Regions from separate parts of the Homo sapiens genome. Here regions 1, 2, 4, 5 and 6 are each linked to region 3. Evidence: promoter capture Hi-C in 16 types of primary human blood cells and fetal thymus (Javierre and others, 2016). All regions are on one chromosome and are shown on one strand. Each heading gives the region's core, a stretch centred on a gene start or on the middle of the fragment in contact. The rest is flanking DNA. Distances are from core to core; before and after follow the strand shown. Region 1 holds the start of SPAG5 (sperm associated antigen 5). Region 2 overlaps LINC01992 (long intergenic non-protein coding RNA 1992). Region 3 holds the start of TMEM97 (transmembrane protein 97). Region 4 has its middle 34 kb from the start of NOS2. Region 5 overlaps LOC105371709 (a long non-coding RNA gene). Region 6 has its middle 20 kb from the start of LINC01992.

Region 1 (2,700 bases), core at 76-2,575, 280 kb after region 3:
ATGAAAATGAATAGATACGATTAATGAAATAACAAAGTCATGGTCAAAAAAGAGGAAGCAAAACTTCCTATACAGCTATAACAGTAGCTGTATGTGATGATCCAGTTTGGCCTTGAGCTTTCTAGAAGGCAGAGCAAGAGGGAAAATATGGTAAACTACATAGTTCTCATTATCAGAAAGAAAAGGATAGCAATTTCTTCAGGAAGACAATTTTTCCAGGCAGTTAGTCCTAAAGCCTTTCTTGGAGGAATCTTATACAGGAGTCAAGCTGCTTCCTTGACAAGTTTTGACAGCAACTGAAATGCAGTTTCTACATGGCTACGTCTCTCAAAACGTTTAACAAAAGTACAAATCAGTGAGGGCAATTCTGCAAGGAGCTAGTTTAAACTAAGGTGATTCAAGTACCCTACCTTCCAGTGGTGTAACTTGATCCCAGGAGAGTTCTAACTACCTCCTAGAGTAAATGGATATTGCCTCAATCTTGCAGGTGACTGACCTTTCCGTAAGTGACCCCATGTTGGAGGAAGAGCACTAATCAGGGTGGTAGGATTTCTCAATAGTTTGATAAAGGTCGAAGGGAGGAGGAGGAGGTAATAAAAACTAACAGCTAAACAGAGATTCAAGTTCTCACTGGATTTCCTTTAACCACCCTAGGGCACCTCTCTGTTGGCCTGAATAGCTGTAAATGGATGTCACCGACGTAGAAGACTTCATTATCGTTATTAATTATTGTAGCCCTGGCCCTCTGTTCCCCTGAGCTCTCACCCTGGGCAAACAGCCCAGTCGAGAAGCTGTCCAGGCGAATCTCACCTGCAGCCCCAGCTTGCACAGTGATGGGGTCAGCGAGGAGCAAGCGGGGGATCTTTTTCCAGAGTTGGTGAGGGCACCGGGCTGCAGGGTAAGTTCACGGAGAGGAGTTCTCATAGATGGTTTTCCCTGAGAAAGAAACCAAGAAAGAGGGCGAGTGTGAGGAAGCCTGGGTTCTGCCAGCCCGCCCCTCCTCCCTCCCTAAGAAGCCCAAAATGCGATTAGAAGAGTACGCTCGCACCCTAGTCGCGCAGGAGCAGCAAGGCGAACAAAGACTCCACAAGCCCCCAACCCCGGGCTCGACCCAACTTTCCAGGACAGTAGACACGGCCGGTGCCCCCGCGACAGCAGCCCGGCCCAGTTCTCTCCGCCAGAGATCTCCCGCTTACCGTCTGGGGCGAAGGCGACAGGCTGAGGCTCAGTTTTTTCACTCGCCACATCTTCAACCAGAAGGCAGGCCTATCACGTCTCAGACCAAGTCGAGGACGCCATGTTCACCCGCCGTCTGTGTTTGAACCTGCTCTGCGCTTCCTGGTTGGCTGCTTCAGGCGCGCGCGTACGCTCGGGGGTAGAGCCCGGGGGGCGGGGCCCGCGTTGACCACGCCCCCGGCCCTGCCTGCCCCTCCGTTGTCGAGCGTTTTCCGCTGACGGAGCCCTCACCTCAGACACCGGCGGTAGGGCTGGATGCGGGCCCGGCCCAGGACCGGTCTTCTGTCCTCACACCGGGGAGGACCACGCAGGTAGCTGGAGAGTCCAGGAGTCCATCCCTCCTGCTTCCAGCGGACCTCCTCACATCCATGGTGTTCATATCCAAGTTGTCTCCGTGGATGGAGAAGAGGAATCCTCTCCCTAGGTCTCCCTCAGTCCTCTCCAGCCGCAGCCTTGACGGGAAAGAGCCGGCCAGGGAGTCTAGAAGCCGAAGCGGTGCCGAGCGGCTTCCCTAGGCTTGGTGGGCCCGCGTCCGGGACGGCCCGGGCCGTGGTTCTCGACCTGGGCTGTAATGTCTCCAGAGTTTCTGGGCTTTTCCTGGGACTTACTCAGGCCGGCTACCAGTTTACTGGGCTAACCGCCTACATGTATTGAACATTGAGTGTGTGCCTGGCGCTATGCCGAATGCCGTGTAGTAGCTCATTTAATGCGCATAAGGACCTACGTAGTGAGAAATACTATAAATATCCCCATTTGTGACAGGAAGGAGCTGAGTCAGAGAGACCGTGTGTAATTTGCTCAGCGTCACACAGATAGTAAACGGCAGAGCCGCTCTTCCTCCCTGTCCCGCCAGCTCCTGCCTTCTGCTGTCTTGGATCTCCTATGCACGGGAAACCTGTTGAAGGTAGGACAGCCGAAAGGTCAGTATTCAGAGTGAGCCGTTTGCGAAGGTGTGTGTGCTTTGCACACTCACGGCGCCCTGTTTACACTCTGCAAGTCTTAATACATAGGGGGAAAGCAGCAGTCCAAAGAGGAGGAACTATGATGTTATAAACTGCAGCGTCCTCAGGGACGGGCTCCTCTAGCATTGTGTTGTCCAGTACGTTAGCCCTAGCCATAGTGGCTTTTGAGCACTTCAGATGTGACTAGTCCCAGTGGGAATGTGCTATAAATGTAAAACACTGTACAAACTGGATTTCAAACACGTCGTATGAAAAAAAGAATGCAAAATATCGCCAGGTGCGGTGGCTCATGCCTGTAATCCCAGCACGGAGGAGACAGAGGCAGGAGGATCCTTTAAGCCCAGGAGTTCGAGACCTGCCTCGGCAATATAGTGAGACCTATGTCTACAAAAAAAAAATTTGGGCCGGGCACGGTGGCTCACGCCTATAATCCCGCACTTCGGGAGGCCGAGGCAGGCGGATCACCTGAGGTCAGGAGTTCGAGACCAGCCTGCCCAACACG
Region 2 (2,700 bases), core at 113-2,612, 390 kb before region 3:
TTGCATCGGAAACCAACTCTAAGTGATTTAAGCAGGAGAGAAAGTTATTTAAGGATATTTATAGTTCACAGAATCTCTGGAGGAGCGGGGGGCTAGAAAACCAGACTTGAAGACTACACAGAGAGACTCCGAGTCCCCCTGGGACTGACCTGAGATGACCAGGGAGCTGGTATTTTTAGCTTCCAGAGGTAAATAACAGCCTTCACTTCCATCAAAACTCATTAGGTAGAAAACACACCAAACATGGGAAAGGCGTTCCGGAGCTGGGCTACCAAAGAGAATAATAAATGTTCACTATAGTTTCATCTTCTAGTTTTGTACCATCCCTGAAACATTTTCTTTTTCCTCCAGGAGCCTCAAAATTACAGTTAAGTCTACAGTCAGACAGAAGGAAACTGGCATTTATTAAACACCAACTTTGTGCCTGGAAGATTCACTTACAATATCATAATCTTTACAATAACTCTGCAATATGGATCTCATTATCAGCATTCTTTTTTTGTTTGTTTGGTTGGTTGGTTTTGGTGGTTTTAGTGTCAGGGTCTCACTCTGTTGCTCAGGCTGGAGCATGGTGGCATGATCATAACTCACTGCAGCCTTGAACTCCTGGAATCAAATGATCCTCCCACCTCACCTCCAAGTAGCTGGGACTACAGGCATGCACCATCATGCCCAGCTAATTTTCTTTTTCTTTTTTTTTAAGAGGTAGGATCTTGCTATAATGCCCAGGTTGGTCTCAAACTCCTGGTATCAAGTGATCCTCCCATCTTGGCCTCCCAAAGTGCGGGAATTACAGGTGTGAACCACTGCACCCAACCTCATTCTCAGCATTCTTATTATGTTTTGTCTTATTATCCTCCAAGGATAGGTTAAGTAATTGTTATGGGTTGAATTGGGTCTCCCCAAAATTCCTATGTTAAAGTCCTAATCCCAGTATCTCAAAATGAAGGTAAGGTCTTTATAGAGGTAATCAAGTTAAAATGATGTTATTAGGATGGGCATTAATTCAATATGACTAGTCTCCTTATAAAAAGCAGACATTCACACACAAGGACACATGCACACAGGGAATATGATACCTGAGATTAGGGTGATGCGTCTGCAGGCCAAAGAATGCCAAAGACTGCCAGCACACCACCAGAAACTGGGGGAGAGGCATGGAACGGATTCTTCTTCACAGCTCTCAGAAAGAACCATGCTGCTGACACCTTGATCTTGGAATTCTAGCCACTGGAACTGTAAAACAATAAATTTCTATTGTTTAAGTCATCTAGTTTGTGAGACTTTATTACCATTGCCATAGCAAACTACTACAGGAATTCACCTCAATTCTCATAGCGAATGAGAAGCAGAACCAGATTTGAACACAGGTCTGGCCAATTCTAACACACCAGCCTCTTCACTATGACTGTATCATAATTTCCCTCCACCAAAAACTCTGGGGTGGTCTATAGCCTACACTTAATGGTGATCAGATATTTTAAGCTGAAGGACCTAATTTTGGTGGGAAAGATGCCAGTTTGGGTCATGTTGAGTTTAGGTGCCTGATAATACCCTGGCGTTCAATAAACACTTGGATATATGAATCTGAGTTCAGGGAGATATCCAAGCTCAAGAGAGGCAATCAGAAGTCATTAACACACAAGTAAAAATGGAAACCCTGAGTGTGAATCAGATCAACAAGAAAGAGCACACTAAGAACCAGTGGGCCTAGGATGATCCCTGGAGTAGCAATGATTTCTTTTTGCCACCTTATGTCCATTTTTTTCCTTCTCCCATAGTAATAGAATTTTTAACTGAGCACATGGGCTTCAGAGTAAAGACTACACTTCCCAGGCTTCCTTGCAGCTAGGTATGACCATGTTCAGGCTAAAGGGATGTTAGTGTCACCTTCCTGAAAATTCCCTTATGAGGTAGTTTATGCCCTTTATTTACTCTTTTTCTCTGTCTTTCTTCCATCTTGCTCCCTGGAACTTGGATGTTGCCTTGATTCACAAGGATGAGGATCATTCCCAAGGAATTGTAGGGCAGTTAATTGGAAGAGGACTGTCTTAGTCCATTTGTGTTGCTATAAATGTATAGCTGATACTGGGAATTTATAAAGAAAAAATCATTTGGCTTATAATTCTGCTCTCTGGGAGACTGGGCATCTGGTGAAAGCCTCAGGCTGCTTCCACTCATGTCAGAAGGTGTAGGAGAGACAGCACGTGCAGAGACCACATGGGAAGAGAGGAAGCTAGAGGGGGAGGTAGGGGAGGAGCCAGGCTTTCTATCAACCAGCTCTCATGGAAGCTAATAGAGTGAGAACTCATTCAGTCTCCCTACCCTCCAGGGAAGGCATTAATCTATTCATAAGTGATCCACCCCCCTGACCCAAACACCTCCAATTAGGTCCTATCTCCACCACTTGGGATCAAATTTCAATATGAGATTTGGAGGGTACAACATCCAAACTAGAGAAAGACCTGTGATCCTGAGGACTTCCTGAAGTGGAGATGCCATACCAGCTCTGGACTGCAAATATCTGGACATTTGTATGACAGCTAAACAATTATCTTGTTCAAGTCAATGTTGCTTTTTTTTTTTTTTTTTTTTTTTTTTGGTTATTCTTTGCTATACCCAATCCCAACTAATATACACGGTGAACACCAGGATATAGGAGGTAGACATAGGAAAGAGATCAAAAAGGAATGGCCAAGA
Region 3 (2,700 bases), core at 134-2,633:
CAAAATAAACTCTCGAGTGCATCTCTCTCCAGCTACTGCCCCATGTCTTCTCCCCTTCGTGACCAGCTGTCTACACTTCCTGCCTCCATTTCCCCACTTTCTTACTCCCTGGCTCCTGCCCCCACGACACAACTGTTCCCCACAGGGCCACAGGCGGGCATCACTCAGTGTTGACAGGCTGCCCCTCCCTGTGACATAGCCCCCTGCTAGTACGCTCCTATCTCAGTCCCCTCCTCCCATGACCTGAGGCTGGAGCTCCCCCAGGATCTCTCCCAGGCCCTCTGCTCGCCATCAAAGGCGGATGCCTCACAAGCTTACGACTCCAGACAGGCTCACCCAACTGCCTCCTCCACCCAACGCTGCAGCCCACTCAAGGTCCACGTAGTCCAAGCTGCATTCCTTCCTCGCACTCCCTTGCCCTGTGTCCCCTCTTAGCAAATGGCAGCCTCGGCGATCCTGCCCCGAGACAGGCCTGCGCCCAGCGTGGAGATGAACATCAGTATTTGCTGAACGTGTAAACGAATCCTTGACCTTCCCTCATGCTCCACAGCCGGTGAGGATTCCTGTCCATTTTACTGCCTCCTACGTCCCTCGAGTCCTCCCCTCTGCTTCTTTGTTCACCGCGGCCAGCTGCCTCCCCAGACCCGCAACCCCGGCTGGGCCGGGAACCTGCACCGCGGCGCTCGTGCCCCGCTCTGCGACCCCTGCTCCGTGACGGCCGCACTGCACCGGGGTACCGCGGCCCAGCACAGGCGCTGGTCACTAGTACACGAACTAGCTAGGACTACAGGTGCACACCACCACACCTGGCTAATTTTTTATTTTTTGTAGAGATAATGTCTTACTAAGTTACCCAGGCTGGTCTTCTGGGCTCAAGCCATCCTCCTGCCTCGGGCTCCCAAAGTGCAGACATTACAGGCATGACCCACCGTGCACAGCGTCAGCTTTATTTTTTTAATGCTGACTTACTGCAGAAGGCCCAAGGGCCAGTGCAGTTTTCATACTGCTGTTGTAGTGGCGAACGGAGCCACGAGGGAAGGGAGCGCCGCCGGCAGCTGCCGGGACACCAGGATACCACGCGGCCAGCACCGAAACGCTAGGCTCGCGCTCACAACCGCAATCTACACTGAGTAGCCGCGCGCCGAACGGCGTGACTAAGCCCCGCCCACACGGCGCTCCTGGCGGCCAATGGAAATGGCTTACGAGACGCCTTCTCCACGCGCTATACTTATACGGACCAATGGGTGCGCCCTGTGGGGAGTGCCGCCCCCTGTCCACGAGCCTCCTCTTCTCGCCAGCCAATGGAAGCGGTCTGCCTAGCCCTCGCGGGGGCAAGGCGGCGACCGAGGCGCGTGGGTCTGGGAAGGCGCGCGGATTTGGCCCCTCTTCTCACATCAGCGGGTCCAGGCCCAACCGACAGACTATGGGGGCTCCGGCAACCAGGCGCTGCGTGGAGTGGCTGCTGGGCCTCTACTTCCTCAGCCACATCCCCATCACCCTGTTCATGGACCTGCAGGCGGTGCTGCCGCGCGAGCTCTACCCAGTCGAGGTGAGGGGCGCCCCTCTTATCCCGGCCCGCTGAGGCTCTCCCGGCGCTGCGTCCACAGGGCCTTCACCTCCTCCGCGCTCGCGCACTCTGGGTTCCAGTTGCCTCTCTCGGGTCCTGCCCATGCCTCCCCCGCTCCTAACCCAACTTTAGTTCGGTGTTTTCCTCGGGCTTTGTCTCTATCCCAGCCCCTTCTCCCAAGCGGCGGGGGCGAACGCTTTGTTTCCTTTAAAGTCACTTCTTCCCTGGGTTTAAGGTTTCCCGCGATTCCACCTCTGGCCGGTTGTCAGTGTCTGAGGGAAGTAGTCTGGATGAAGTGGTGTCCAAAGTCACATGTTAGGTTTGCTTTAAGCTTCTGGTTTTTTGTTTGTTTGTTTGGAAGGGCTTTAAAATACCAGTCTGATCCCAAAGAAAAAATCCGAGTAGAAATAGACCTGTCTGAAGGTTTAGCACCTTGGTTGGTGCAGCTGGGGCGTTCACAGATCGTCACTGCTTCGAGATCAGGTTCCAGCAACTTCCAGAGCTCAGGAGTAAATTGCCATCTTTTCAGATTGGCTCTTCAATATTGGGTTCGAGTAACAATGATCTCCTGAGTAAAAATAAAGGTGAAAATCCCGATTTCCTGGTTGTTGGAGAGCATTCTTTCAACCCCAAACTCTGCTTTAATGCTTTGTTTTTTTCTTCAAAGCTATAGTTTTAGTTTCCCGGTTCGTTGAGGTTTTTTTCTCGTATCTGGACCCTGTGACCTTCTTCCATGGAATTCCTGTCCTCAGTTTTGTTTCTCCATCTTATCTATAACTGTAGGCAGGACTGACTTGTCTACCCGAAGATTTTATTTTGCGTCTGTTTTTCCTTAAATGCTTTTTATCTGCCGAGGAGGGGTTCTTTACCTGAGGGTCATGAACTCCCAAAAATGGGTGCAAGTGTGTGTGCCTTTTGTTTCCTGCAAGGAGAATATAGCTTCCATCGACTTTTCAAGGGGCCTAACTCTCCCAAAAAGGCCACGGCTCAAGAATGTTCTACCACTCCCATAAGTCACTCTTTTTTGTTTGCTTCTAGAACCAAACACAACTGGAAGACCTCTGACCTCCTTTTGCATGGGAAAAGCGTAGGTAGCGTGTAGCAAGTTGCAGTCTGGGGACTTGGTTCTTCCA
Region 4 (2,700 bases), core at 64-2,563, 480 kb before region 3:
CCCACTGGTTTTCTCCCGCAACATGTGGGGCTTACGGGAGCTACAATTCAAGATGGGACTTGGGTGGGGACACAGCCAAACCATATCAGATATGTTCTGAGAAATGCATCATGAGGTGATTTCATTATTGTGCAAATATCATTGAGTGTACTTACATAAACCTAGATGGTATAGCCTACAGCATACCTTGGCTATATGGTACAGCCTATTGCTCCTAGGCTACAAACCTGTACAGCATGTGACTGTACTGAATACTGTAAGTAACTGTAACACAATGGTAAGCATTTGCATATCTAAACATAGAAAAGGCACAGTAAAAAAATACAGTACAAAAGTTTTTTTCAAAGGTATACCTGTAGAGGGCACGTACCATGAATGGAGCTTGCAGGACTGGAAGTTGCTCTGAGTGAATCGGTAGGTGAGTGGTGAGTGAAGATGAAGGCCTAGGACATTATTGTACACTACTGTAGATTTACTGTACATTTAGATGACACTAAATTCATTTAGAATTCCTTTCTTCAATAATAAATTAACCTTGGCTTACTATAACTTTTTTACTTTATAAACTTTTTAATTTTTAAAAAACTTTTTGACTCATAATAACACAGCTTAAAACACAAATACATTGCACAGCTATACAAAAATATTTTGTCTCTATTCTTATAAGCTTTTCTTGTTAATTCTTGTTTTTTTTTTTACTTTTTAAACTGTTTTATTAGAAACTAAGGCACACCACACATTAGCTTAGGCCTACACAGTGTCAGGATCATCAATATCACAACTGCCTTCCATCTCCACATCTTGTCCCACTGGAAGGTCTTTGGGGGAACAATGTGCATGGAGCTGTCATCTCCTGTGATAACATACCTTCCTCTGGAATACCTCCTGAAGGACCTGCCTGAGGCTATTTTATAGTTCACTTAAAAAAATAAGTACAAGGAGTATACTCTGAAATAACAGTAAAAAGTATATTGTCATATTCACATAGTCAATAAAAATGATAGTTATTTGTTTACATATGTATAGGAAATACACAAACCAGTAACATAGTCATTGTATTATCATTATCAAGTATTATATACCTTACATAACTGTCTGTGAGATATTTTTGTACAACTGCAGCACGGTAGGTTTGTCTACACCAGCATCACCACAAACATGAGTAATGCATTGCACTTGGATGCCAAGATGGCTATGACCACACCCAGACCTGCAACGCTGCAGGTATTAAGACCAGAGGTGTCTCCCTACTGATCCCAGCAAGTCCATTTGTGTGAAAACAGACAGGGAGCTGCCAGAAGTTCAAATGTAGGATTTCAAGTGCCCAGCCAAGTCATTGGCTCCCAGAATACATAATGAAAACCAACAACAAACAAATCGAAACAGCTCAGAAGCAAAGCAAAGTGCTATTGGAAAAGCAGCACCAGTGCTTTTGTGAGATTCAGAGATATAATCCCTGCCACCTCCAAAAAGAAGCAATAAGAACAATTATGTAAGATTCTTTAGGGCAAGGACTGAGATAGAGCAGGGACCCCTCATAGGAGCCTGTAGGCCCCTCCCTGCAACATGGAAATAAAGGAAAAGAGTTTCTTCAAGGGAAACTCCAGGCACCTAGCTAGCCCTGAGAAGAAAATGAGTGACCTGATCATTAAGAAGGTAATAGTAGCTTAAAACTATAACCAAGGAAGTTAGAGTCACAAGATGTTCCCTGTAGAACATTATATTTATCCCTTTATCCCTAACGATAACGTCTTAACATACGTTTCTCTGAGTTGTTTTTCAGGTACCTGGACCCCTACCAAATGGATCCACTAGCACACAGGCCTCAGATAAGGGGGAACTGCGGATTGAACTCTGACCACTCCTCTTTCTTCTGAAGTTCTTCCTGAGGGACCTGGAGGAAATCATACCCACAAACCAGAGCTTACATTCTTTTCTACTGACCCCAAATTTTTAGACAAAGCTTTGCTTCCTTAACCAATTGCAAATCAGAAAATCTTTGAATCTTTGAATGCTTTGAGACATCCCCCCTTTTTAGGTCAAAGCAATATATAGCCTCCATGTATTAATATGTAGTTGTGCCTGTAACCTCTGCCTCCCTGCCTTAAAAAACCCTTAACAAGCCATCGGGGAAGCCAGGTCTTAAGCATGAGCTGCTGGATTCTCCTTGCTGGGCACTCGCAAATAAACATCCTCCTTTCTCCCACTGCAAACCTTGGTGTAGATGTTTGGACTTACTGTGCCAGGTGAGTGGTCAGTGGATCCCAAGTGGATTCAGTAACAATTAGTTGGCAACTACAAAGGGGCGAAAGTCCCAACCGGTGGCCTTGCCCATGGCACACCAGCCCCTGGCTGCAGCCACCCTTGGACCCTGTCCGGCAGTTGGCTGAATTATTTTGCTCAGGGATGGATCCATGCATTTTATGCTTGACCAGGTGTCATGGGCCATGGCATTTTTACTTTTGTAGCATTAAAAATAAGGCACTGGGCTTGGAAGATGTCCTTCGTAAGTGGTAGGTTTGTGGGCAACAGCCCCAAGGTATTTTTTTCTTTGGACACTGGGTTCTGCTTTGGCAGGACAACTGACTTTGCTTTGGCAAGGCCCTGGGCCCTGCTTTCTTAGAGTATTTGGTTTGATTGGGGATACTCACTAGAGAGCTGAAGGGATCCAGAACTTGAGAAACCATATTTGGTTTTGAC
Region 5 (2,700 bases), core at 22-2,521, 280 kb before region 3:
ACTCAGGAGGCTGAGGCAGGAGAATGGCATGAACCTGGGAGGCGAAGCTTGCAGTGAGCCGAGATTGCGCCACTGCACTCCAGCCTGAGCGACAGAGCGAGACTCCGTCTCAAAAAGAAAAAAAGAAGGGACACAAACTCATCATGAGTCCAGAAGCATCTGTACATCTATCTCCTCTCCCCCACAGTTGAAGTTAGCACCATGCCTAGATATAATTGGTGCTTAATACATGTTTGTGGAAGGAATAAATAACTCTTAATGTACAATTGTTTTCTCGTGGATTAGATTAATTTATTTATTTCACATGTATCAAGCACTTTCTATGTATTATTATAGTACTATACTAAGCGCTGAAAAAGAAAGTTTACAAAGACTAAGCTCCTTTACTCTAGGCCTGTGCTTCTTAAGCTCTAGCGTTTGTAAGAATGACCTGGAGAGCTTGTTAAACAGATTCCTCCTCTCCTCCTCCAATTCTTATTCAGTAGGTCTGAGGTGAAACCAGATAATTTGCTGAACATCTAAGAAGCTTTTAGGAAACTACACTTTGGAGGAGAGTGCTGTGCATTGGAAAATTGGAAACATCTCAAATATTACATGAGGGTGAGTGTTGAAGAGAATTTATATTGCATTTTCACTATTTGCCAAGCACGTTTAAATACATCACCTCATTTAACCCTCATATAGACCTCATGAGTCATGTATTATTTCAGTTGAGGCAACTGAGATTGAGAAAGGTTAGTTAAGTTGCCTAAACTATAGAGTAAGTAAATGGCAGAGCTTGGGTTTGTACCCACTTCTGCACTCAGTAATTCAGGCAAATCTGTAGCAAGTGTCTTCTTTTTTTTCAGGCACTGTCCTAAGGAACTGGGCATACAACATTGAGTGAGACAGACAAGCTCTCTGTCCCCGGTCAAACTCAACAAGCACTTAAAATATCGATATGAGGGAGGCAGTGTCATGGAGATATACAACAGAAACGTATACTCTAGAACAGAGTTAGAACTTTCCAGGAAAAAAAGTAAAATTTACACGAAGACCTGAGGGATGAATTAGAGCAGTGAAGGATGAGCGGGAAATGTTTTGGGCTGAAGATATACATGAAGGCTTGAAAGCATTCAAGGAGCTGCAGGAAGTTCAGAATGTCTGAAGTGTGGAGTGGAAGGGAGAGATAAGACCCTTGAGGTAGGTAGGCAGGAACCAGATCATGCCAGGCTATTTAGGGGTACAGCCAGCCTTTTTTTTTTTTTGACAGGATCTCACTGTCACCCAGGCTGGAGTGCACTGGTGGGATCTCAGCTCACTACAGCATCTACCTCCCTGGCTCAAGCTATCCTCCCACCTCAGCCTCTTCAGTAGCTGGGTCTAGAGACATGTGTACCACTAATTTTTGTATTTTTTGTAGACACGGGGTTTTGCCACATTGCCCAGACTGATCTTCTGAACTCAAGGGATCCACGTACCTTGGCCTCACCAAGTGCTGGGATTACAGGTGTGAGCCACTGCCCCTGGTCTCAGATTTGTATTTTTAAAAATTTACTATGCCCCCAGAGGGGGATGGATCAAAGGAGAGCTAGCTTGCAGGCAGGGAAATGGTTAAAGATGTTAGTGGTGTAAATTTGGGTAAATGCTGTGTGACTGGGAAGTAGCAGAAGTGAGGGGGATTTAAAATTGTTTAAGACTTGATGATTCAGCCTGGGCAACATGGCAAAACCCCATCTCTACAAAAAAATACAAAAATTAGCCAGGTGTGGTGGCATGTGCCTGTAGTCCCACCTACTTGGGAGGCTGAGGTGGGAGGATCATCTGAGCCCAAGAGGTGGAGGCTGCAGTGGGCTGTAATCATGCCACTGCACTCCAGCCTGGGCAACAGAGACCATGTCTCAAAAAAAAAAAAAAAAAAAAGAAGACTTGATGACTGATAGATTGGAAGGGACAATGTGGACAGGCAAAGGAGGGATCGAAGATGACTTCCAAGTTTTTGAGTAAACTATACAGTTTCAGTAGGGATAAGGTTCTGTAAGCTTATTATTTCACATTTTAAAGGAAGGGTAAATTCAGATAAATGAAGTGATGGAAAGATGCTATTTTAGTAAGATTTCAATGACAGAAACTTACTTGATAGAAAATATGGGAGAGGCTGGAGGCGGTGGCTCACGCCTGTAATCTCAGCACTTTGGGAGGCCAAGGTGGGAGGTGGGAGGATCTCTTGAGCCTAGGAATTTGAGACCAACCTGGGCAACATATTAAGACCCTGTTTCTAAAAAATTAAAGAATCAGCCGGGCATGGTGATGCACATCTGTAATCCCAGCTACTCGGGAAGCTGAGGCGGGAAGATTGCTTGAGCCGGGAGTTGGAGGTTGCAGTGAGCTAGGACTGTGCCACTGCAGTCTAGCCTGGGTGACAGAATGTGACCCTGTTAAGAAAGAAAGATAGAGGAAAATTATTATTTTTGTGGTCAAGTTTACTTTTTTTGTTTTAATTTGCACCAACAGCTTTATCATTTGTCGACAGTGGAGTTCTGAATGCCAGAGATTCCTCCTCTTTTTGCCAAGATCAGGATTAACTATGGAGAGGACCGGCCGTAGACTACGAACTGTCAGTCTACTGAGTTTCTGTCAGTCTTTTGAGTTTCCTTTGTCTTCTTGTTGAGTGACCTTGGACCTTGAGTTTCTGAAGCTCAACATTCCCTTTTTCTTCCC
Region 6 (2,700 bases), core at 121-2,620, 310 kb before region 3:
TGATGTGAACCTGGGAGGTAGAGCTTGCAGTGAGCCGAGATCGCGCCACTGCACTCCAGCCTGGGCAACAGAGTAAGACTCCGTCTCAAAAAAAAAAAAAAAAAAAAGAGTTCCTACGAGTACTGAACTGACCCTACTTCTGGAAGGCAAGAAAATGAGCCAGGATTTACCATATAACAATCATGTACACAAATCTCGAGTTGCAAATCTTTACACATGCTATCTCAAGGAGTTGTCACAGCAACTCTGGGAGGTAGGTGTTACTATCACTGTTTCACAGATGAGAAGCTGAAGTTTGAGGAGGGGTCACAACTTACTTAAGACCACTCAGTTTGCAAGTGGCAGAGGAAAGATTTATGCTCAGGTCAGTTTTGACACCAGACTATAGTGTTAAGCCACTGTCTGTGACATCAGAAACTCCAGTAGGACAAAAGGCTCTGATGGCATGATAGGGATTGAGTGTGGGGCATGAAGTTGCTGATTCCAGAATGAATGTGGGAGGTTCCAGAGAATCCTCCACATCTGTGAACCAATGCCTCTCTAAAGTTGTCTTAGAGGCACAGGCTGGTGCTAGGACAGCTGCATTAGAATCATCTGGTGGGCATGTGAAGAACGCAAAGAGCTGGATTCCATTCCCAAAGAGTATAATCCAGTAGCTGATATGTTTTGGATGTTTGTCCCCTCCTAGTCTCATGTTGAAACGTGATTCCCAATGTTCACAGGGCCTAGTGGGAGGTGATTGGATCATGGAGGCAGATCCCTCATAAATGAAGTATCATCCCCTTGGTGATAAGTGAGTTCTCGCTGAGTTCATGTGAGAGCTGGTTGTTTAAAAGAGTGTGACACCTCTTCCCTCTCTCTTTCTTGCTCCTGCTTTCGCCATGCGATGCACCTGCTTCCCCTTTTTCTTCCATCATAATTGGAAGTTTCCTGAGGCCCTCACCAGAAGCAGATTCTGGCAGTGTGCTTCCTGTAAAGCCTGCAGAACCATGAATCAATGAAACCTCTTTTCTTTATAAATTATCCAGCCTCAGATACTCCTTTATAGCTATACAAATGGACTAACACAGCAGGAGTGTAATCAAGCCCAGGAACATGAACATTAAAAAATGTCTAAGTGATTCTGATGCATAGATAGATTTAGGAACCACCACTGCCCTTGGCAACATTTATAATCCTCAGGGTTCCTCCTTCTCCCTTTAGTTGTAACATAATCCCCAGGGATTCAGAGCCAAGACATAGTTCTGAAGGAGGAGCTATAGTTACCATAGAAGTGATCACACATGCGCCATTGCACTCCAGCCTGGGCAACAAGAGTGAAACTCTGTCTCAAAGCAAAAAAAAAAAGTGATCACACAGACTCAGACTGGTTAGAACAGAGTGATTGTCAATCAGAAGCAGTGGTGGCATGTGTCAGTACCAAGGACACTTTCTCAACCTCAGTGCACTCACCTCAGTGGAGAACAACTGCATTAGGAGTGTTTGGTTATCCTAGAAATGAGCTTATTGGGGCATAAGAGATAACTGTTTGCTCAGGGATCAATGTTAATCACTTCTGCATTATTACAGAGAAGCCACTGCTTTCTTCATCATATGGCACATCTTCCAGGAGGACTATCTACAGGAATGTCTCATGTGTTTTGCCCATTACAACTAAAGGGAGTTTGCACTTGGGGGTTCTCGTTAGACTTTTCTGGTTAGACATCTGATGCTTCCTTCTTTGGGTTTTGAGTGGTCTGGGACATGTCAATAGCTTCCTGCACACCAAAGGAGGTCCGAGATCAAATGGCCTTGGGTATAAAAGTACATCCATGTGCTGTGTGGGTGGTGGGAACTATGGTGAACTGCCCAAGAGAGATGCTACTTCTCAGTTTCAGTCTATCCCTGCCATGCAGAAATGCAGGATCAGTATTACCAGAGCTTCCGATATGAGAGATAGAGAAGGAGACAAGGAGAGGGAGGTGGAGAGAGAGAGAGAGGCATAGACAGAGAAGAGAGAGCAGATACTGGGATTTCTAAATATTGGCTCAGATGAAAGTTAAAAAAATATGTGGGCCACACAAAATATTTCTGTAGGCCACATCTGGCTATGTCTGCCAAAGAAATAAGTTCCATTTTGGAAGCTGCAATTCCAAAGCACCATGCTTAGTCACCATGCTATGTTGATTTGGCCACCTCTCAGGGTGAACCTCTTAGTGTGGTCTTTGCTTTTAGGGAGAGAAACTGAGGGAGAAAGGTGGGACAGAACCATTTCTTACTGTCACCAACAGGCTCTGGTAGATTGCTCTAAAGCAACTTACTGACACACTGACAGATTTAAATTTCCACTGCTGAAAACCACTCATATCTTACTGTTGTCCAAACCCAAAGAATCAAATGGCCAACTCAATGCTGTTAGAATTTTAATAGTAATACTGGTTCCTCTTCCTCTTATCTTCCAAATCTCCCATGGAAAAATGATCATCTCCATTGACAAGCACCGCCATCTGCAATTGGAGTAATCTGAAGCTGGCATTGTACTCTGCTTATCTCATCAACCCAGATTCCAAGGAGTTGAGGGATTTGATCATTTATGAAGGGGATTCGACCTGCATTTCTACCCTCTACCACCACAAAGTAAATTGTGAAATCATTCACCCTTTTCTTCACTTCTAAATCCCTGTAGTGTCCATCTTTCCTGTTGCAAAGAAGTAGTAGAGG

What was found. The method cuts DNA at HindIII sites, captures the fragments that hold promoters and counts their contacts. A CHiCAGO score of 5 or more calls a contact.
Region 1: a contact is called between the fragment with the promoter of SPAG5 here and the fragment with the promoter of TMEM97 in region 3, in 2 of 17 cell types (fetal thymus and activated CD4 T cells). The highest score is 5.5, in fetal thymus.
Region 2: a fragment that was not itself captured here is called in contact with the fragment with the promoter of TMEM97 in region 3 in 1 of 17 cell types (M1 macrophages); the score reaches 5.4 in M1 macrophages.
Region 4: a fragment that was not itself captured here is called in contact with the fragment with the promoter of TMEM97 in region 3 in 1 of 17 cell types (M2 macrophages); the score reaches 5.4 in M2 macrophages.
Region 5: a contact is called between a fragment that was not itself captured here and the fragment with the promoter of TMEM97 in region 3, in 1 of 17 cell types (fetal thymus). The highest score is 6.9, in fetal thymus.
Region 6: a fragment that was not itself captured here is called in contact with the fragment with the promoter of TMEM97 in region 3 in 1 of 17 cell types (M2 macrophages); the score reaches 5.4 in M2 macrophages.

Annotation. Positions count from the first base shown.
Region 1 is chr17:28,597,700-28,600,399 of GRCh38, forward strand. SPAG5 (sperm associated antigen 5) reads right to left here and starts at 1,326. Exons shown (of 24, transcript NM_006461.4): 1 at 1,197-1,326; 2 at 811-936. The coding sequence starts at 1,247. It overlaps SPAG5-AS1 (SPAG5 antisense RNA 1), which reads left to right and starts at 1,434. Exons shown (of 3, transcript NR_040012.1): 1 at 1,434-1,547; 2 at 1,999-2,156. RefSeq lists enhancers at 988-1,532, 1,757-1,836 and a silencer at 1,237-1,546. The HindIII fragment of the contact is 7,511 bases long and covers 1-2,700 here.
Region 2 is chr17:27,930,458-27,933,157 of GRCh38, forward strand. LINC01992 (long intergenic non-protein coding RNA 1992) reads right to left here. Exons shown (of 5, transcript NR_146896.1): 3 at 1,080-1,236; 4 at 150-268; 5 at 1-18. Among named protein-coding and RNA genes, the nearest start is that of LYRM9, 38 kb to the left of the region's middle. The HindIII fragment of the contact is 3,848 bases long and covers 1-2,700 here.
Region 3 is chr17:28,317,817-28,320,516 of GRCh38, forward strand. It overlaps TMEM97 (transmembrane protein 97), which reads left to right and starts at 1,384. Exons shown (of 3, transcript NM_014573.3): 1 at 1,384-1,549. The coding sequence starts at 1,424. RefSeq lists enhancers at 1-488, 708-967, 1,448-1,507. The HindIII fragment of the contact is 1,585 bases long and covers 312-1,896 here.
Region 4 is chr17:27,833,585-27,836,284 of GRCh38, forward strand. No RefSeq gene overlaps it. Among named protein-coding and RNA genes, the nearest start is that of NOS2, 34 kb to the left of the region's middle. The HindIII fragment of the contact is 1,296 bases long and covers 666-1,961 here.
Region 5 is chr17:28,038,310-28,041,009 of GRCh38, forward strand. All of the region lies in intron 2 of LOC105371709 (a long non-coding RNA gene), which reads right to left. Among named protein-coding and RNA genes, the nearest start is that of NLK, 3.0 kb to the right of the region's middle. The HindIII fragment of the contact is 1,495 bases long and covers 525-2,019 here.
Region 6 is chr17:28,010,063-28,012,762 of GRCh38, forward strand. No RefSeq gene overlaps it. Among named protein-coding and RNA genes, the nearest start is that of LINC01992, 20 kb to the left of the region's middle. The HindIII fragment of the contact is 4,914 bases long and covers 1-2,700 here.